3 separate regions of the Homo sapiens genome follow, and all the other regions are linked to region 3. Evidence: promoter capture Hi-C in 16 types of primary human blood cells and fetal thymus (Javierre and others, 2016). All regions are on one chromosome and are shown on one strand. Each heading gives the region's core, a stretch centred on a gene start or on the middle of the fragment in contact. The rest is flanking DNA. Distances are from core to core; before and after follow the strand shown. Region 1 overlaps LOC124901351 (a long non-coding RNA gene). Region 2 has its middle 5.1 kb from the start of TTK. Region 3 holds the start of ELOVL4 (ELOVL fatty acid elongase 4).

Evidence for each region. The method cuts DNA at HindIII sites, captures the fragments that hold promoters and counts their contacts. A CHiCAGO score of 5 or more calls a contact.
Region 1: a fragment that was not itself captured here is called in contact with the fragment with the promoter of ELOVL4 in region 3 in 1 of 17 cell types (fetal thymus); the score reaches 5.4 in fetal thymus.
Region 2: a contact is called between a fragment that was not itself captured here and the fragment with the promoter of ELOVL4 in region 3, in 1 of 17 cell types (fetal thymus). The highest score is 7.6, in fetal thymus.

Annotation. Positions count from the first base shown.
Region 1 is chr6:79,979,682-79,984,061 of GRCh38, forward strand. LOC124901351 (a long non-coding RNA gene) reads left to right here. Exons shown (of 3, transcript XR_007059656.1): 3 at 1-365. Among named protein-coding and RNA genes, the nearest start is that of TTK, 23 kb to the right of the region's middle. The HindIII fragment of the contact is 267 bases long and covers 1,841-2,107 here.
Region 2 is chr6:79,997,481-80,001,615 of GRCh38, forward strand. No RefSeq gene overlaps it. Among named protein-coding and RNA genes, the nearest start is that of TTK, 5.1 kb to the right of the region's middle. The HindIII fragment of the contact is 390 bases long and covers 1,232-1,621 here.
Region 3 is chr6:79,944,955-79,949,381 of GRCh38, forward strand. It overlaps ELOVL4 (ELOVL fatty acid elongase 4), which reads right to left and starts at 2,599. Exons shown (of 6, transcript NM_022726.4): 1 at 2,226-2,599. The coding sequence starts at 2,325. LOC124901350 reads right to left here. Exons shown (of 2, transcript XM_047419628.1): 2 at 2,433-3,057. The coding sequence starts at 2,861. The coding sequence ends at 2,433. LOC124901351 (a long non-coding RNA gene) reads left to right here and starts at 2,851. Exons shown (of 3, transcript XR_007059656.1): 1 at 2,851-2,973. RefSeq lists a silencer at 2,659-2,708. The HindIII fragment of the contact is 8,446 bases long and covers 412-4,427 here.

The DNA of each region.
Region 1 (4,380 bases), core at 724-3,223, 34 kb after region 3:
GCCACGTGTGACTTTTGGGCACCTGAAATGTGTCCAGCTGAGAAGTGTTATAATTGTAAAATATACTTTTGTGTGTTTTTCAATTTTGAAGACAGTATAAAAAAATGCAAAAAATTTTAATATATAGATTAAATAAAATATATTAAAATAAATACTAACAATATGTTAATGTTTTCTTTTAAATTTTTCTAATGTGGAAGAACTTTTAATGTAAAAAATTTAGAAGTTGTATATGTGGCTTGCACTGTATCTATTGGACAATGCTGATCTAGCTATGACATATATAAAATGTGATATTGATTCTTATATTGAAAACTAGATGAACATTTAATGCTAGAATTGTGAATAGTTTTATTTTTATGAAAATATCTAATGTTTTAAATTTTCAAAAATGAATTTTAAAATTTAACTTTAGATAATGTTGATTAAATTTTTGTATATGCATTAGTTTGTATTTTGACTTTTAGTTTAATAAATAATTTTGAATATAAAAAATGACTTTTTGAAAAAACACGAAAAATAATTCTAATTTTATATTTATTATAATTTTTGCTGAAATTTTGTAATTATAATTAATTTTGCTTTATTTGGTTTAAAGATGGGTCTCACTAGATTGCCCAGGCTGGATTACAGTGGCTATTCATAGGCACAATCATAGCAAACTTCAGCCTTGAACTCCTGCACTCAAAGGGTCCTCCTGCCTCAGCCTCCACAGTAGTTGGAACTACAGGCTGGTGGCACCTTGCCTGGTTACAATTAATTTTTAGCCCTGGCCAGGCATGGTGTCTCATCTCTGTAATCCCAGCACTTTGGGAGGCCAAGGCAGGTGGATCATCTGAAGTTAGGAGTTTGAGACCAGCTTGACCAACATGGTGAAACCCATGTCTACTGAGAAAATACAAAATTATACGGGCATAGTGGTACATGCCTGTAATCCCAGCTACTTGGGAGGCTGAAGCAGGAGAATTGCTTGAACCCTGAAGGTGGAGGTTGCAGTGAGCTGAGATCGCACCATTGCACTCCAGCCTGAGCAACAAGAGCAAAACTCCATCTCAAAAATAAATAAATAAATAAAAATTTTTAGTCCTTTAGGTTAGTACTCTCAATAGAACATAAATTGTCTGAAAGTCTTAATTAACACAACATAATAAGTGATATTTTTCTAATGAAAGTAAGAAAAATAAATGTATGAAATAAATCAATTTATAAATAACTTATAAATTATATTGTTTCATGTTATAATTCAAAAATGATTGGCTTATCAACAGAAATCCCAGCTGAACATGGGGGCTCATGAGTTTAAGACCAGTCTGGATGACATAGTGAGACCCCTCTCTCCACAAAAAATGAAAAAGCTTGGTGTGGTGGCATGTGCCTATAGTCCTAGCTACTTGGGAGGCTGAGGTGGGAAGATCACTTGAGTCCAGGAGTTCAAGGTTATAGTGAGTCACTGCACTCCAGCCGAGGTGAAAGAACAAGACCTTGTCTCAAAAAAAAAAAAAAAAAAAAAATCCCAAAAATAGAGTAATAATTAAATTCAAATAACTTTTCTTTTTTGCCAACTATCAATAACATGAAACTGTAGTGTCAAACATGTATTTCAATTTTGTTATTACAGATGTACCATTATTGCACAGAAGGAGAGAACATATTTAATATTACAGCTCGTTTACATGACATTTAAATATTTAGACAAATAGTATATGGACCTCTATTTGCACTATTGCCCTGGATCTCACAAATGTTAGGATGGATCTTTTCTGATCATAAGCGGGGCCCATGGTAACCAGAAAGTTTTCAGTGAAACAAGATGTTCTCCATGGAATTGCATCACAGCTGAAGCTTCCATGGCTTTTGAGGATCCCTCAGAGCTGACAGTGTTGGTATGGCCTCTCAAGGTCTGTGTGAAACAAAATACAGTCTCTCTCCTAACCCATCTGTATTTTTACTCCTAAGCCTGGTAGGAAAGGGATGGACCTAGGAAATAGGTGGGAAAGAGAATGAACCTGACAACATCCTTGCATATATGTCTCCTTACTTCTGCCCTTTCCTGGGTGAATTAAATAGCCTGGTTGAAAATTGCTGAGACAGATTTAAAGAAGCTCAAAGCTTCTGCAATATATGCAATATAATAGCTGTGGTGCCAGCTTTTGGTAGAAACTGGGTCAAAGGGTGGAGTAGGTAGAAGCGATGCTCTTCAAAAGCTACATCTGCCAACGGAACTACGATCGAAGAGACTTTTGGAGAGTACAAAGGAAAGTTGTAAGCTGAGTTGTTTATTAGGTTGATTCTCATTATTTTAATAATACATGAAAAGGGTCAACCCTAAAATGTATCAATCCAATATGGATAAATACTGTGAATTATACCTATCTATGGACAAGCTTTACTCACCTCTGGAAATTTATGTCTATTTTCAATGACAGAAACTGTAGAGCTGTGAATAACCATTTGATAAGAAATAAAAATGCACTGGGAAGCAAAAGTCCAGAATTCTATTTCTAGTGTTGGTATATCCAAGCCATATACCCCCAGGGCAAATCACTAAACTGGTCTAGGCTTCAATCTCCTACCTGCACACTGCTGAAAGAAAAAATTGTGCTGCCTATCTCATAGACTGATATGAGGATCAAATGGGACCATTTAAGTGAAAGCACTTTGAAAATTGTAAAGTGGTTTACAAATATAAAACATTGTCATTTTTTGTTTCACTCTGTGATATTTCCTTCAGGAAGTTAGGACTGATTACTATTGTTACTATTACCATTATATATTGATATGAGTTTATTTGATGTGATTATATAATAAGATATATATTTTTTAAATGACTATAATTTTGAATTCTAATTCACCAACTATCAAATAGCAAAACTTTGTTAATGTATTGTCCCAGAGATCCTTGTTTTTTAAAACCTCATCTATTTTACTCACTAATATAGGAATGCTGTTTTCCCTTGAATTCCTATTACTCTTTCCCTCACCTTTGATTTTTAAAATTCAAATCGTTTATTTTCTACAAGATACTTATGTTGTCAAAATAAATATTACCATTTTATCATTGTTTGCTTTTCTTCTGTCTCTCCATCCTGCACTCATCTACAGTGATGATGGAGAAGGAGCTTCTTAGTTTTTCTCAGCCTGCTTGATTTTAGAGGAAAGGCACCCTCGTTGCCCCCTTCTTTGCCCCAGAGGCACCTGTGGGTTCTGACAGGACTAGTCCAGTTGTTGGACACTCCCTGGGCAGCCTTTCCCTATCAGATAAAGCAGGGAGTGAGCCTCTGACAGGTACATCTGTCACTATCCTGTGTGTCCATGGCGCAAGTGGAACTCTAATCAGACTAATGTTGTGCAAAGACTTTGTGTGGGCGACGTCTATCCTCCACCCCAGATGAATGACTTACTGCATCTGTGTGCTCAAAGCAAATGAAACTCTTACATACCTTTGAAATAAAAGAGAACAATATGAAAGTATTAGGACATTGGTCCTATCACAAAAGATGCACATTTCATTATGTGAAAAGGAAACTTCAGGCCTCAACGTATTAGATAAAATAAGGTATTTTTTATCGCTAACTCAGGAAAGATTTTGAACCTTTTTGTATTCAGGTGGCAAGTAATTCAGGCCCCTCATAGAAGATACCATTAAAATATAATTTAAAATAGGAAAGAGAAACACATACATATTAGAAAAGGCTTTGACCATTCCTCGCCTTCTATTTAATCTGCAGAAATTATTTTAGAATCTCAGAATGCTATTTAGCTTTATTATCACAGCTCTATGTTAGTAAAGTTAATTGCGTGTGTGTTTTAGTTGTTATAAATGTTCTGTAGAGATTCATGTTAATTACATTTTGAGAAATATTATTTGCAAACAGGTGGCCGGTTACTTTATATTTCCTTTCTGCGGAGTCAAAGGGTGGCATGACGACTAAAGGAGCTGGCTTACTTCTGGGGGCACTCAGAAGGCCACACCTTCAGCACAGGTACTATGAGCCTTCTGATGATTCCCGTCACTGAACGTGGACCAAAGCAGCAGAGCCCCTGAAAATGTCCTGGCATTTCAGCAGAAAACAGTGTGAGCAAATGATTAATGACTGGGGTCTTCCTGAGTCTTAGTGATACATGAGGTGCAAGGTACAGCCTTGGGCTGGTGGAGCCTCAATTACTACTAAATTTCTCAATAGCCTATAGGAACAGGGCATGGAGTTGGATTTCAAGTGATTTACAGATTATAAACAAATATGATGGTTCTTGAACTTTTGAATTTGTGAACTGAGGTTCTGCTATTTTTATGTTATGGCATTCAACATACAAATTTACAAACTGAACAAGGCTTAGAGGTAATTAATTATTAACTCTTAGCTTGAACAAGAGGTTACT
Region 2 (4,135 bases), core at 177-2,676, 51 kb after region 3:
AAGACCCTGTCTCAAAAAAATAAAAAATAAATAAAATAATAACAGTATTACAATATTCTGTTTTTAGTACTGGTGTTTTGTATTTCCATTTACAAAACATAGTAATTCTCAATTGCTGAAAATGTCAAATCCTATAAAACACAGCATTTCTACGTGTGATGTTAACATCATTCTCAAACAGTTGTTGGCTGAAGATTGATTTGATGAATCCAATTTTTTCAAAACTGACAATACTGATGATTCAGACAATTCTGATGTTAGTTACGTTTAGAAATAACTCCAAGAGCAGTTTTTAGATTTTATTTTCACATTGAAAATCAGTCAGATTTGCTTCAGCCTCAAAAAGCATGTTTATGTAAAATTAAATGAGTGATGGCAGGCAACTGTAGTTTTTTTTCCTAAATGGGAAAAGGGTTAAAGATGTCACTCCATTGTTGCCCAGCTTACATTGTTTCTGGCAAGAAGTCTACTGTTCTTATGATTGTTCATCTATATCTAATTTGTACTTTTCCTCTGGTTGCTTTTAATATTTTCTCTTTATCATTAGTTTTGTCCAATGTAATAATGTGCACAGGTGTTGTTTTCATGAAGTTTTTTGTGTTTAGAATCTGTTGAACTTCTTCAATTTGTTTGTTTATGGTTTTCAACATATTTAAACAAATTTTGGCCATTTTTTCTTCAAATATATTCTTCAATTCTCCCTTCTTTCTTGTGAAAACTCCAATCACATGTACATTATGCCACATTGTTTTTCCACAACTCACTGAAGTTCTTTGTATTTTTGTTTCTTTGCTTCTCTGTGCCTTATTTTGCATAGTTTATTATTGATATGTTTTCAAGTTTAGGATATTTTGTTTTCCAGACTGTAATCTGCTATTAATCCTATCCAATATAATTTTTATTGCAGGTATTGCATTTTTCATCTCTATACATTTGTTTTTGGTCTTCTCATATATTCCATATTTCTTTTTAACATGTTTACACTTTCCTCTACTTTCTGGAACATATGGAATACAGTTATAATTACTGTTTGTCTATTAGTGGGTAATCTGTGCCACTTCTGCATCTGTTTTAATTGACTGATTTCCACCCCCACTTCCTCATTTAGATTTACATTTTCCTGCTTTAAGTGCCTAGTAATTTTTTAATTAGATGCCAGACATTGTAAATTTGACCCAGTTGGATTTTCTCATATTTCTATAAATACTGATCCTTTTAAGGTTTGCTCTTAAGCTTTTATAGACTGGGCCATTGCATGCTGTAGGGCTAATTTTGCTCCAGTTCTAAGGCAATATCATGAGTCTTCTACTTGTTGCTTTGTGAACAAAAACTATTTCTTGTCCTTTATGAGCTCTTGACATTATTCCCTTTTATTCTTTCCCCTGGTTGTTATCTTCCTCTGGTCTTGTGATAGTTTCCACATACACTTGCACTTACCAATACAGAGCTGGAGACTCAAGGACATTCTCTGCAGATTTCCAGAATTCTCTCTCTGTTCTGCTCTTTTTCTCTGGTACGCTGTCCTGTGAACTTCACCTGCCTTGGCCATTCCAGACTATGAACTCCATCTTCCTAACTTTAGAATACCAGGCAATGCCTGGGTTCTCCCTTTGTACACTGAAGCTTGGAAACTCTCACCAGTAAGTAATCTGGAGGCAACATTATGACTCACTTGTTTGTTTCACTATTCTTAAGGATCACTGTACTGTATTGCCTGATGTCTGATGCTTGAAAACCATTATTTCATTTATTTTGTATAGTTTTTGTTGTTACTGTTGTTTCAGAGAATAAATCTGAACCATGTTTCTTCATCTTGGCTAGACTCTAACTGTGTATTTGATAATTTTATTATTTTTAGAAATCTAAATGTACAGACTTACATTTATCTCTATAAATTGCATATTATCAACTTTGTCCTTTTAAAGTATCTTCTAATTTTGTCTTTTTTTAATTCATATGAAAAGTTAAGCATTATTTTTATATGTTTGTGACACAGATAAGATATGTAGTTTAGAATAAAACCACAGACAGAGTTCTGAGACCTTCTACTAGGGATCAACCTGAAGTTCTCAAACTATTAACAAGTGATCTTGGAGAAAAATGATCCAGAGTTGCAGAAATACTTCACATTAACCATATGGGAATTACTTGCTCCTTTCTTCCACAAAAGCAGTAAGAGAGCCTTTATCATTTTATTTGCCAAAGTTAAGATAGTCTGTATTTATGGCCTTCCCTTTTCTAAATATACAAACAATCAAAATCAGAACTTAGTATATTCTATATAGCCTGCTCTTAATGCATTTACATTGGCTTCTAGAGATCTTTGCTTCCAAACAGTTCGGTAATTGATCCCAGAAGGGGTCTAAAATTCTAAAATCTACATTGAGATTATAGAGATTAATAGCTTCCAAATTCTACCTTTTCCAAAAAGGTAACACTTGTCCATCCATTTCTGGCTTTCTATCATTGCTTCTACTTATTATGACTTTTCAGAGATTGCCAGCAATGTTTCTGGGATTATATTTGCACGTTTTTTTTCAATATCCTGCTTATTTTCTTCAGGATATTGTGGTATATTAACCAACTACGTGAGGCTCTCTCTATATAGCAGAGACTGAAAATGTATGGAGATATATATATATATATATATATATATTTTTTTTTTTTTTTTTTTTGAGACAGAGTTTCGCCCTTATTGCCCAGGCTGGAGTGCAATGGCGAGATCTTGGCTCACCACAACCTCTGCCTCCCAGTTTCAAGTGATTCTCCTGCCTCAGCCTTCCGTGTAGCTGGGATTACAGGCATGCACCAGCACGCCTGGCTAATTTTGTATTTTTAGTAGAGACGGGGTTTCTCCATGTTGGTCAGGCTGGTCTCGAACTCCTGACCTCAGGTGATCTGCCCCGCCTCAGCCTCCCAAAGTGCTAGGATTACAGGCATGAGCCACTGCACCCAACCTGGATACATTTAAAAAAAAATTATGGCCAGGTGTGATGGTAATCACAGACCATCACAATGCTTCCCTGCACTTTGGGAGGCCGAGGCAGGTGCATTGCTTGAGCTCAGGAGTTTGAGACCAGCCTGGGCAACATGGCAAAACCCTGTCTCTACAAAAAATACAACAATTAGTCGGGTGTTGTGGCATGAACCTGTAGTACTAGTTACTTGGGAGTCTCAGGTGGAAGGATGGCTTGAGCTCAGGAGGTAGAAGTTGCAGTGAACCAAGATCACACCACTGCACTCCAGCCTGGGTGACAAAGCCAGAGCCTATCTCTCTCTCTCACACACACACACACACACACATACATACACACACACTTCATTTGTGTCAGAGAGTTTGGATGGAATTTAAATGTCTTTCTTATATAGCCTGTCCTGTATTTATTTTTAAGATTGTCAGTCTGACTGCTATTCTTCATATTGGAGAAAAAAGAAAAATAGGAACTGAGAATCCTACTTTTCTTCTGCTGTTTGTTAGCATAGTTTATTGCCTGCATGATTAAATAATACCTGATGTCCAAGTAGTGGTCCTAACTCGTCACTGCTGTTTTCCTTTGTAGAACATAATCTAAGCTGTCATTGCTGTTTTTCTTTGTGATCTATGAGGTACGTTGGTACCTCTCCTTGGCATTATTTTCTTTTCTTTTGGGTATGGCTTGGTCCATTCTGTGATAGTTAGCTTTCCTGACAGTATTCATACAGGTCTCAACATTCTTATGGGCTCACGTCACTCCTAAATGCACTAAAATCAGCATACACTAGTAATGTTTTATCCAGAATAAACCACCATAAAGCAGCACACAACTGATTGCATGCTGTAAGAACTGGATTTATTATTGATCAGAAATTTAACTTTTGTATATGCACAAAATAAATTCATGTATAATAATTAGTTTCTAAAATCAAAGTTTGGGCCTTACTGAGCTTGTGTAACAATGACCTCAATAATTGAAAAAAAAATTCCTTGGAGGGGATTTAAATAAATAAGTAAATAAATAATGGAATAAAAAAGGCAGCTGTGCTGACAGAGAAGTCAAAGATCAGCAAAAAAGTTTCATGATGATAATGACAAAGTTAAACATTCGAAACTTTTGTTTATGTGACAAAAATGTGAAACTTACCATCTTACAATAAG
Region 3 (4,427 bases), core at 1,349-3,848:
GAGAGGTGGAATCAGAGCAGAGTGAATGAGTCCAAAAAAAAAAAAAAAAAAAAAAAAGGAACACGAGGGGCATAGAATGAGGGAGAGTAAACGTAAATGGGACACCACAGACTTCAGGTCTATTCGGCCTGGACCTGAAAAATACTCCTCCTCACACAGCAGTACAGCAGAACAGACTATATCCACTAAGCCTCTCTGTTGGTTAAGAAATACCATCTGCCTACATAAGGTAGCTCATTACAGAAAGCAAGGAAGCAGTCTCAGGTTTCGTAAGTGGATAGTCAAAGCATAGGCAAATACCTTCCTTCGGCCTGCTAGTGAGAGGTCACTTGTGTTCTAAGGCTACTCTCACTTCTCAGGCTTGGCCCACAATATTATATTATTTTATATGCCCTTCGAAGCCTAGTAGCAAGCTTTCACATGCGGCAACTGCACAAAATTTCCTGTTTCATTTGTGTGTGTGTGGTTTCTTTTACACAAACATCATCAGGAAGGAATTCACCATCACAGAAAGGTGTATTCTACCTTTGCCCTCAATTTTTCCTTCTGAGACTCAAGAGATGGGAAAGCTCCGGGATAGGATAGGAATGACAGGACCGAGAACTCCTGGGTGTGGCTCTGGCTATATGGAGACTGGAGTATCTCAACAGTGTCTGACTCCTAGGTGTGCGAAGTGCAATTACCTGCTAAAGAACTTGTCTGATGTTCAGCTCTATACAATTGTGTAATGGGAAGCCCTGATGCAACGTTTAAAGAACCGAAATCACAGACGTGAAGGGAAGGGCACATCTTTCCCAGTTTTTGCAGGTACAGTGTAACATCAGTGTAATAGCGCATAGAAACAAAAAAAAAAACTGAAGAAACACTCCATTGAAAACTGCCTTTTAACCATTTTCAGCTGTAATGGCTTATTAAATAGCTTATTTCCCAGTGTCAAAGTTGAGATCTTCTGAAAAAGAACATACTTTTCTAAAGAAGTGAATGCAGTATTAATGCCAAATAATCATTTTGTCTCTCACAAAAATAATTCCAGCATACGTTTTTCCCAAAACATAAGCCCTATGTATCGGACTACATTCATGCTGTAACCACTGTCTAATTTCCTCTAACAACAATGAACACAAAAACTACAGGAGTACATTTTCATTTCGAAGTAGGGAAGGCAGAGTCATAAGATGGAACGTTAATATCCTTCACTGATAGGATGCAGTGTGATACTGCAAAAGGACCAGAAAAATTGACCTCGTAAAATCATTTCTGAAATCCTTTAAACCTTATTTTAGATTTCAAAGACTTTTAAATGCTTTAAAATCAAAAGCAGCGAAGCAAATGAAGAAATAAACAGTACAATGTAAAAATATAATATCACAGTTGGACGCTAGGAAAGCTGCATAAATCAAACAATTGACAGCCCTGCCAAATTAACTGCAACAGCTAAAGAAAAGTTTGCTGATTTAAGAACTGTATATATGTAGGCATCTGGGACAACCTCTAGGTGTTGCTGTAGAGACCCCCTTCCTAAAGACTGATTTCTTCCCCGGTGTTTTGGCCTCCCCCTCCCCCTGACTGCACTGCAGTGCGCAAAGCCATTATAGACAATCACTTCAAACATATTTGCTGTTGAAAATGCCTCGGAAACTAACATTCTTCAAGGTTCAAGGAGCCAAACAATATTATTTTACTTTTCAGTCCGAATTATACTATAGATGAAGGAGCTAGATAGAAGAAAAGATTAGCAGGGTTCTGTCAAAGCGACCAGGAGGCTGAAGAAACCTCCTGTACCTTCAGCTGCCCCTGAAGCCCTCCTTCCTCCCCAGCCCGCTCTCCATACAAAATAGGACTAAATGTTAAAAGGAATCCTGTGCACGGGGAAGAGGGAGGCGAGCTCGGGAGATGTGGGAGCACAGGGTGGGGCGGCTCCTGCGAGGAGCTCCTGGCTGCACAGGCTCCATCTGATATGTCAGCTCCCGCATCCGAGAGCTGATGAGAGATGGAGGGAGCTCAGAAGAAAACCCTGCGAGTGTCGGGGGAGGGGAGGCCTTAACATTCGGATCAGATTAACCAGTGCTCAACCGCAGTGCCCGCGCCGGCCCCTCCGCTGATCCGCAGCATCCGAAAGCCGCAGGGCGCGGGGGCCTGTGGGGCCGGGCCCGGGAGCTGCGAGACCAGGGGCCGGTGACCCCCCGCGGGGGACCGAGCGAGGATGGGGAAGTCAGCGGCTTTACCTGCGATGGACCAGGTCCAGCGGTAGAACTCTACCGTGTCGTTGAGTGCCGTGGACACTACGTTTAGGACACTACCCGGCTCCGAGTCCAGGAGCCCCATCGCGGCGATGAGCGGGCGCTGGCGGCAGGAGAAAGCGGAGACCCAGAGAGAGGGCTGACCCCGGAGGCGGTGGCGGCCGACGGGGCGAGCGGCGGCCGGGAACCCCTCTAACGGCGGCGGCCCGGCTGCGTCTTCTCCTGCTCCTCAAGGCGCCGCGGCGGCGGGGATGCGGCAGAAGGCAGGGCCAAGCGGAAGGCGTCGTCAAGGTTCCCGGGAGAAAGACGAGGAGGTGGAGGAGGCCCAGCCGCCAGCACAGTGCGCTGCACCAGTCTGCAGCCTCGCGCAGCCGCCCCTCCAATCTCCTCAGCCGGCGTCACGTGGCCGCGCGCGGGGGCGGGGGGCCGGCCGCCCCTCCTCCCTCCCTCCCTCCCTAGTATTGGGACTCGCTGGCGTAGGGATGCTGCGCTCAAGGGTGCGACGCCAACTGGGCTCGCGCAGGCGCGCGCCGTCGAGCGGGAGCGGGACACCTGGGCTCCTCCTTGGCCCCTCCCCGCACAAGTCGCCTCATTAGCCTTCCCCGCCCCTGTCCCGGGCATCGGCCCCTGCGGAGGAGTTCACCGCCTCCCCACGGGTGATTTCTTATCCGCCCCGGATACGTCCTGGGAAACAGGACACGGGAAGAATGGGTGTTCTGTGGGCAAAGATGAGGTAGGCGTGGTGCTTTGGTCCTTACCTGACACTCACCTCGATTTCACTTGTGTTCCTGTTTCTTTGACCTCCACCAGCACATGCCTGTCACCATGACAAGAGAAGTGCATGTGTTATGCCTCTGAAGAAGTGAAGGGTATTTGTCTTCCATGCTTCAGCGATGGAGAATAGACTTTGGGGTCGACCCATGAACAAATCAACATATAATTGCATGAATGCTTGCATGTGTTTTGTAGACTCTTTTACTATACATGGAATGAACAAAGCAATATAATTGTGCTAAATTAGGCCATTAGTAGTTCAGAGAAGAGGGAGAACCGAGAGGGGCTTACAGGTGAAGTCCGCTTGAACCTGAAGAAGTTGAGGTGAATCTGAAAAAGATAATCGCTCAAGAGGCAAAGGGCAATTTAGTGTAGAGAGGAAAACAAAGTAATTGTGGCTATTTTGAAAAATTGTTTAGATAAGGTATAGGAGAGCCTACCCTTGAAAAGTAAAAAAAATACAGTACTTGGAATTCATAATTTGATGGTTTCTCACATAAAACAAGATTTTTGAGAATAGTCCTTTCATCTACTTGTTTTTTAAATGTGTCACCTACTTGTTTAACCTTTTCTCCACTTGCTCATTTTGGATGCTACATTTTAAAGACCAGTGAGTCAAGTGTCTTATTGTTCCTGCCCTTTCACACTGTTAATGTGAATACTATCTTTTATCATACTGAAATGATCTATTTCCCAATTGACCTGGTTATATATTGTCTATATTTTATATTGGAAGCATCCTAGATGGTAAGAATTATTTTTGGTTGCTTGATGAGTACCTAACCCAGTGCTATAAACAGTAATTAATAAATATTTATGATGACAAAAATATAACATGTCTTTCAGAGAATAATAAGGATTATTGTGAGTGGCAGGAACTTTATTGCCGAACTAAAGCAAACACAGACTTCTTTAAATGCCCTATTCTTGAAATTAACCAAATAAAATGTTAATTTATTAATTTGTCAAATATATTTGCAAATCTAAAGTTTTCTGGATTGGAATGACAATTTCTCAAGTCTCAATCCTAAATTATGTGTAACAGATTCTAGTAGCTATATAAAAAAAAGAAATCCAGTCAAGTCTCTTCATTTAGGGAGTGGATAAATACCCATTCATTTACAGTGATGATCTAACAAAGTTCGGATTAGTTCGAGCTTCACCTAAAAATTTGATTACTATTTCTATATTGTGGAATCCTGGAGTTTTTAGGGAGAACAGATCTCTACCCATACTTCCATTCACACACGCAAAACTGCAGCATAATACTTAATACAAGGAGAAATTGTTAAAACAGCTTCAGGTATTTCCCTGGTATTTCTTCTACCGTGGAGGTCAACTTAAGTCCCTATTCACTAGGGGGTGCCAGTCACGTATAAGAAAATCATAGATGAGATAACCTTCAGCTGGGAA